Linked DNA regions of Homo sapiens: region 1 is linked to region 2. The links are contacts of gene promoters, found by promoter capture Hi-C in blood cells and fetal thymus (Javierre and others, 2016). All regions are on one chromosome and are shown on one strand. Each heading gives the region's core, a stretch centred on a gene start or on the middle of the fragment in contact. The rest is flanking DNA. Distances are from core to core; before and after follow the strand shown. Region 1 holds the start of AP2S1 (adaptor related protein complex 2 subunit sigma 1). Region 2 holds the start of CCDC9 (coiled-coil domain containing 9).

Evidence for each region. The method cuts DNA at HindIII sites, captures the fragments that hold promoters and counts their contacts. A CHiCAGO score of 5 or more calls a contact.
Region 1: a fragment that was not itself captured here is called in contact with the fragment with the promoter of CCDC9 in region 2 in 1 of 17 cell types (naive B cells); the score reaches 5.3 in naive B cells.

The regions. Positions count from the first base shown.
Region 1 is chr19:46,847,148-46,850,873 of GRCh38, reverse strand. It overlaps AP2S1 (adaptor related protein complex 2 subunit sigma 1), which reads left to right and starts at 28. Exons shown (of 5, transcript NM_004069.6): 1 at 28-110. The coding sequence starts at 108. RefSeq lists an enhancer at 1-13. The HindIII fragment of the contact is 1,318 bases long and covers 1,052-2,369 here.
Region 2 is chr19:47,254,938-47,258,593 of GRCh38, reverse strand. CCDC9 (coiled-coil domain containing 9) reads right to left here and starts at 2,069. Exons shown (of 12, transcript NM_015603.3): 1 at 1,985-2,069; 2 at 191-264; 3 at 1-35. The coding sequence starts at 193. RefSeq lists silencers at 1,271-1,320, 1,361-1,600, 1,811-1,920 and an enhancer at 1,811-2,720. The HindIII fragment of the contact is 17,839 bases long and covers 1-2,426 here.

The DNA of each region.
Region 1 (3,726 bases), core at 461-2,960, 410 kb after region 2:
TTTCTACCGGAAGTCCGCTCTAGCTCTGGGCCCTACAACTGCACCCTGAGCCGGAGCTGCCCAGTCGCCGCGGGACCGGGGCCGCTGGGGTCTGGACGGGGGTCGCCATGGTAACGGGGGAGCGCTACGCCGGGGACTGGCGGAGGGGGGGCCCACGCGTAAATAGCCGAGGCTGGATCGGGCGCTGACAAGTCCCTTCTCTGCCGCGGATGGTCTGGGTCAGGCGCGGGCTCTGGGGATTGGGACCGATCCAGGGCCGGGAAGGAGGGCACAGGGCGGTGATTCTGCGCGCGGGGGTTACCAGGGGTCTCGCGGCGACGGGCATTGGGGGTGGTGTTCCAAGGGGAAAGGGCTGTGCAGGTGGGAAACGTTGTAGATGGTTGGAAGCTTTGAAACGAGAGGAAACTCGTGAGACACAGTCTTGTGGGTAGCGAGAAGGCATTGGAGGTGGGGAGAGGGCGTCCGAAAGAGGAAGGCGCTCTGGAAGTGTGGCGGGAGCGCTGGGACGAGAACGCGAGACCTTGGAAAAGGGGAGGGAGGTTTTCTTGATGGGAGGAGTCTCTAGAGACAAGGATCTGATTGCAGGTGGAGAGGGGATGTTGAGACAGGGGCAGGAGACTGCCTGTGAGAGAGGGATGATCTCAAGAAGAGACCTGGCACAGGAAACCAAAAGGAGGCAACTGTAGGGAATGAAACTTAAGGGTCTGGGAAAGCGCTGTAAAAGGAGAGAGGACCTGGAGGTAAGATGGACACTCGGAAAGAATGGGGAGCAACTGAATAGGTCTTTCCAAGAGGAGAGATCTTGTGGGGTGGGGAGTAGGCTTGAAAGTGTGAGACCTGGGGAGGAATCTTTGTTGGGGCAAAGACTCAACATTGGATTTAGGAGTGCCCCTATCCCCCAGGTTGGGGCTTTGGATCTAGGAAAGGGTTCTTTGGGCTGGAAGTTGGGAAAGAAAACGAATGAGAAAGAGTGTCAGAGCGGGGGCGGAGTCTCCTCCAGGAACAGGGTCCTTGGAGGCAAAATGTGACCTTTTGAAGAAGGGAGGAAGCTTGGGAGTGGGACAAGGGATGTCACCAGTAAAAAGCCCATTGAGGCCCCAAGGAGGGGAACTGAGACTGAGAAAGTGGAGGTCAAAAGGGAACAACTCCAGAGGAGGGGGATTGGAGACAGGGAAGGTTGGGGGGCATCTAGAGGGGACAGCAGAGGCGTGAGGATGCAGAGATTCAGGACGGAGGGGACTTGAGATTCCAAATGGGAAGAAAACAGGGAGAGGTATACAAGGGAATTTGGGAGTAAGAGGCAGAGCTTTTTGTCAACTCTGTGGGTTTGCTTCTAGTTCTCCTAACTGTGTGAATATGTCTCCGGCTCTGCTCCCAGGCTGTGGCTGCCTGGTGTAGGCCCCCCAACGTCCCTTCCTGCCTGGGACCCCTGCCCTGCTAGGAAGTGGTTTTCCCTGGCTCAGCAGGAGTTCTTGGAAGGAGAGTGTAACATCCTGTTCCGGTCCAGTTTGGTTGGTTGGGGGAGGGAGGATAGAGTGTGTGGAGAATGAGGCTTAGGAAAGACTCTCAGGCTGGGGCGGTGACTCATGCCTGTAATCCCAGCACTTTGGGAGGCTGAGGCAGGCGGATCACATAAGGTCAGGAGTTCGAGACCAGCCTGGCCAACGTGGTGAGACCCCGTCTCTACTAAAAATACAAAAATAAGCCAGGTGTGGTGGTGGATGCCTGTAATCCCAGCTACTTGGGAGGCTGAGGCAGGAGAATCGCTTGAACCCGGGAGGCAGAGGCTGCAGTGAGCCGAGATTGTGCCACTGGCCTAGGCGACAGAGTGAGACTCTGTCTCAAAAAAAAAAAAAAAAAAAAGGCTGGGCACAGTGACTCGCGCCTGTAACCCCAGCACTTTGGGAGGCTGAGGCAGGCAGATCACAAGGTCAGGAGTTCGAGACCAGCCTGACCAACATGGTGAAACCCTGTCTCTACTAAAAATACAAAAATTAGCCGGGCATGGTGGCATGCGCCTGTAATCCCAGGTACTTAGGAGGCTGAGGCAGGAGAATCGCTTGAACCTGGAGGTAGAGGTTGCAGTGAACCGAGACAGTGCCACTGCACTCCAGCCTAGGCAACAGAGTGAGACTGTCTGAAAACAAAAAAGAAAAGAAAAAGACAGGACTAGAGGGCTCTCTTTCCTAAGAGAGAAGGCTCCCACAAGTTGGGGTCAGGTGGTTCAGAGCAAAGCCTTTGGACTCCCACCTCTGCTTTCTGGCTGTGAGACTTCCTTTCCCTAAATCTCAGTTTCCTCATCTATAAAATGGGCATGAGCATGCCTGTCTCAGACAGAAATGGGCCCAGAACTTCTAATGGAGTAAGCTTTGGCCATGGTTTTCTGAACATCACATAATGGAAAATATAATGCTGCTAAGAGCTGGTTCTTATGTAACACTTAGTACGTGCCAGTCACTGTACTATACCTCTATGTTTTTGTTTTTGTTTTTTTGAGACAGCGTCTCGCTCTGTCACCCAGGCTGGAGAGCAATGGTGCAATGTCAGCTCACTGCAACCTCTGCCTCCTGGGTTCAAGTGATTCTCATGCCTCAGCCTCCCGAGTAGCTGGGATTATAGCCGCCTCCCCCCTGCCCCCCATCACACCTGGCTAATTTTTGTATTTTTAGTACAGATGGGGTTTCACCATGTTGGCCAAACTGGTCTCGAACTCCTGACCTCAAGTGATCTGCCCGCCTTGGCCTCCCAAAGTGCTGGGATTACAGGTGTGAGCCACCGTGACCGGCCAGGAATATCCTTTACTCCTCACAGTAAACTCAGGCACCAAAGTGGCACCAAAGTTAAGTCATGAAAGTGGCAGACGCTTTGGAAAACGGTTTAGCAATTCCTGAGAAAGTTAAACATAGCGTTACCCTATGAGCCAGCAATCTCACTCTTAGGTATATACCCAAGAGAAATGATCCATCCACACGAAAACTCATACACGAATGTTCATAGCAGTATTATTCATAATAGCCCTAAAGCAGAAACAACCCAAATGCCCGAAGTACGGCCTTATCCATCCAACAGAGGATCACTCAGCCACGGAAAGGAATTGCAGCTCTGCCGCTTGCCACCCCACAGATGAGCCTGGAAAACGTCACGCTGAGTGAAGGAAGCCAGACACGAAAGCCACAGAGTGCATGATTCCACTCATATACAATGTCCAGAACAGACACATCCACAGAGACAGAAAGGAGACTCGTGGCTGCCAGGCCCTGGGGGAACGGAGAGTGACTGCTAATGGGTGGGGAGTTTTTTGGGGGGAGATGATGAAAATGTTCTGGTATTAGATAATAAATTAGATAGTGGTGATATTAGGTGGGGTGCAGTGGCTCACGCCTGATGCAGCACTTTGGGGGGATGAGGTGGGTGGATCGCTTGAGGCCAGGAGTTCGAGACCAGCCTGGACAACATGGTGAAACACTGTCTCTACTAAAAATACAAAAAGTTAGCTGGGCGTGGTGGTGTGCACCTGCGGTCCCAGCTACCTGGGAGGCCTGCACCCAGGAGGTGGAGGTTGCAGTGAGGCGGGATCGCGCCACTGCACTCTAGCCTGGGCAACAGAGCTAGAACCTGTCTCAAAAAAAAAAAAAAAAGTGGTGATTTTTACACAACTGTGAATATATACTAAGTGAATATACCAAAAACCATTTAACTGTCTACATTTTAAGTGGATGGATTTTA
Region 2 (3,656 bases), core at 820-3,319:
TTCTCCTCCTTTGATTTCAAATCGAGTGTGGCTGCCTGAGACCGGGAGGCAGTTGAGGGATGGAAGGAAAAACCTCCATCCATACCAGGGACTTTCCCCCAGGGTCTGAGAGTCTGCCCCTATGGATCCCATCCTCCCAAGCCCCCTTCCCCAAAACTCAGATTCTAGAGACCCCATTTTTCAGCCTCACCATTTCGCTGGCTGCGTGGAGCCAAGGTCCCAGCAAACCTCCCCTGCAGAATCTAGACGCAGCACTGAGGGTTCCTGGGGACAGAGGGAAAAAAAGGACAAAGGCCAATGGCCCCCCAACCTACTTCACCCTCTAACATACTGCGGGATCCTCACAGCCATACACAAAAAACCCTGTACCCCAAGAGAATTGTAGCCCTCACTCTCCCTCCTTTCAACTGCCACCTCCATCTTCTCCATAGAAATTCAGACTCAGCCCTTTCATGATCTTTGTGGACTCACCCAGTTCCCATGTAAACGATCTAGTCAAACCCACCTTGGGGATGTTCTGGCCCCCACCCACTGCTTAAGTATCCAACACTGCTCTCCTCCAAAGGCTGATTCTAGGCCAGCCGCCACACCCTGTGGTATGAGTGTTAGCCCGGGTTCCCTATCTCAAGAGAGTTCCAACTACAACCCCTCCAACCAGCCTGCAAAAGAAAGTTCCAGACCCACCTCCCTGTGCTCATCCTGGTGCCTCTCATATCCAGGCGAATATTCTAGCTCCACCAGGTAAGGTTCAGAAACATTCCCAATCCCACGCTCAAAGAAAGTCCGAACCCCACTCTTATTGGCTGCCCAAGCTCTCAGAGAACATTCCAAGCCCGCGCCTTCCTCAGGGACGTCCTAGTCCCGTCTCCAGCGCCCTACGGAAGGTCGACAGCCTCCCGCCTCCCCCGAAAGGATTCTGTACACAGGCCCAGAACTCACTGGCGAGGCTTCCTGGAACTGGCGTTTTGCCCCACTGAATACTCCACCCGCCCCAACAAGGACAAAACTACCCAGGCCCGCCCCAGATTTTCTGTGCAAAGCTCCAGCCTCAATCCGGCTGGGAATGCCAGGGCCACGTCCCCGACATCCTGGAAACCGCTCTGGCCCCGCCCACGGCTCGGGAAAAAACTTTCTGGCCCCGCCTTTCCCGCCAGACTTCTGGCCCCGCCCCCACCCATGGGCCATTAATGTGGCCCCGCTCCCGACTTTCCCAGCCACGCTCTTTCCCCGCCTCCTGGCTCGCAGGCAACAGCCTACACCCGCCCCTACCATCTCTTATTATTATTCCAGCCCCGCCCCCGGCCTGCCCAGTCAACCCTCTGGCCCCGCCTCCGATTGGCCTGGCCAACCTCCTGGACACGCCCCCTGACTCCCTCCCACACCTCGTTGCGTCAGCATCTGGCCCCGCCCATGGCTTCCCCAGGGTTCTGGCTCAACTCCCCGCTTCCCCGCCTCCCGGCCAACGCTCTGGCCGCGCCCGTGGCTCAGACGAAACTTTCTGGCTCCACCCCCAGCATTCCCCGCCAGCACCCTGGCCCCGCCCCCTGGCTCCCCCACTACATTGTGGCCCCGCCCCCGCCATTGCGTCAGCCTCTGGGTCCGCCCCCAACGTCCCGGCCAAGAATCTGGACCCACTTCCAGTAAGGCAAAACTTTCTGGCCCCGCCCACAGAGCTTCCGCCCGGCGTCCGAGCCCCGCCACACAGCTGAACAAGCAACACTATGGCCCCGCCCACAGTCCAGCCACAACTTTTAGGTCCCGCCCACAGCCGCCGGCCCAGGCTCTGGCCACGCCCCGCCCCGACCCTGCCCACCCACCCAACGGCCCGCCCCGCCAGCGCCCCTCCAGCTTCCCATGTGGGCGTCCTGTCCCCGCCCCCCGCAGAGAACTCCGACCCCGCCCGGGCCTGTTCGCACTCCCCGCCACGTGGGGCTTCAGGCCCCGCCTTCTCTGGGCGCGCTCCCGGCCCCCTCCCCCAGGTCACCTGTCCCGGAGACCCCGCGGCGTCCGCGACTCCGGCTCCGTCGGCCTCTGCGACCGCAGCTCCCGGGCCAGGCGCGTCACTTCCTGCCTGCACCACGTGAGGAAGGGAAATAAAGAGGGTCACTTCCGGTCCTGTGGGACCGTTTCCGGGAGCCTTAAAGGGGCCGCGCCTCCGCGATGGATGCGGGAGCGGGGCCGACTGGCCCCCCGGGTGTTCCGCAAGCTCATCCAACTTCCTTCTGCCTGAATTACCAACTTCCAGGAAAAGGAGACACCGTCCTCACTCCCTGGCCTCTACCTCTTTCTTCAAGCTGTTTCCGCCTCCAGCCCCTCATTCCTGGTTTCTATCAGTAGATGCCAAGCACTGGGCACTGACGCCTGGAAGCCTGGCGTGGTTCGAGCCCCCTCGTGCCAATGAAACCTTAGAGTTCGCTTTAGAAGCTTCAGATGTTCTACCGGCCGTGGGCGGTGGCTCACACTTGTAATCCCAGCACCTTGGGAGGCCGAGGCGGGCGGATCACCTGAGGTCAGAAGTTCGAGATCAGTCTGGCCAACATTGTGAAATCCCGTCTCTACAAAAAAAATTAGCCGGTTGTGGTGGCGCGCGCCTGTAATCCCAGCAACTCGGGAGGCTGAAGCAGGAGAATCGCTTGAACCGGGGAGGCAGAGGTTGCAGTGAGCCGAGATCATGCCACCGCACTGCAGCCTAGACGACAGAGCAGACCCCTTCTCGAAAATAAAATAAAATGCTGGGCGCAGTGGCTCACGCTTGTAATCCCAGCACTTTGGGAGGCCGAGGAGGGCGGATCACTTGAGGCCAGGAATTCGAGACCATCCTTGCCAACATGGTGAAACCCCGTCTCTACTAAAAATACAAAAAAAATCAGCCCGGCGTGGTGGCGGGCGCCTGTAGTCCGAGCTACTCCGGAGACTGAGCCAGGAGAATGGCGTGAACCCCGGGGGCGGAGCTTGCAGTGAGCCGAGATCGCTCCACTGCACTCTAGCCTGGGCGACACAGGGAGACTCCGTCTCAAAAAATATACATATACAAAAATTAGCCAGGCATGGTGGCGGGCGCCTGTAATCCCAGCTACTTGGGAGGCTGAGGCAGGAGCATCGCTTGAACCCGGGAGGCAGAGGTTGCAGTAAGCCGAGATTGCACCACTGCACTGCAGCCTGGGCGACAGAACGAGAGACTCCGTCTCAAAATAAAATAGGCCGGGCGCCGTGGCTCACGCCTGTAATCCCAGCACTTTGGGAGTCCGAGGCGGGTGGATCACCCGAGGTCAGGAGTTTGAGACCAGCCTGACCAACGTGGTGAAACCCTGTCTCTACTAAAAAATACAAAAATTAGCCAGGCATGGTGGCGGGCACCTGTAACACCTGTAATCCCAGCTACAGGCTGAAGCAGGAGAATCGCTTAAACCCGGGAGGCAGAGGTTGCAGTGAGCTGAGATCGTGCCATTGCACTCCAGCCTGGGCGACAGAGCAAGACTACGTCTCAAAAAAATAAATAACTGGCCAGGCGCAGTGGCTCATGCCTGTAATCCCAGCACTTTGGGAGGCCGAGGCAGGTGGATCACAAGGTCAGGAGTTCGAGACCAGCCTGGCTAACATGGTGAAACCCCGTCTTTACTAAAAATACAAAATTTAGCCAAGCATGGTGGCAGATG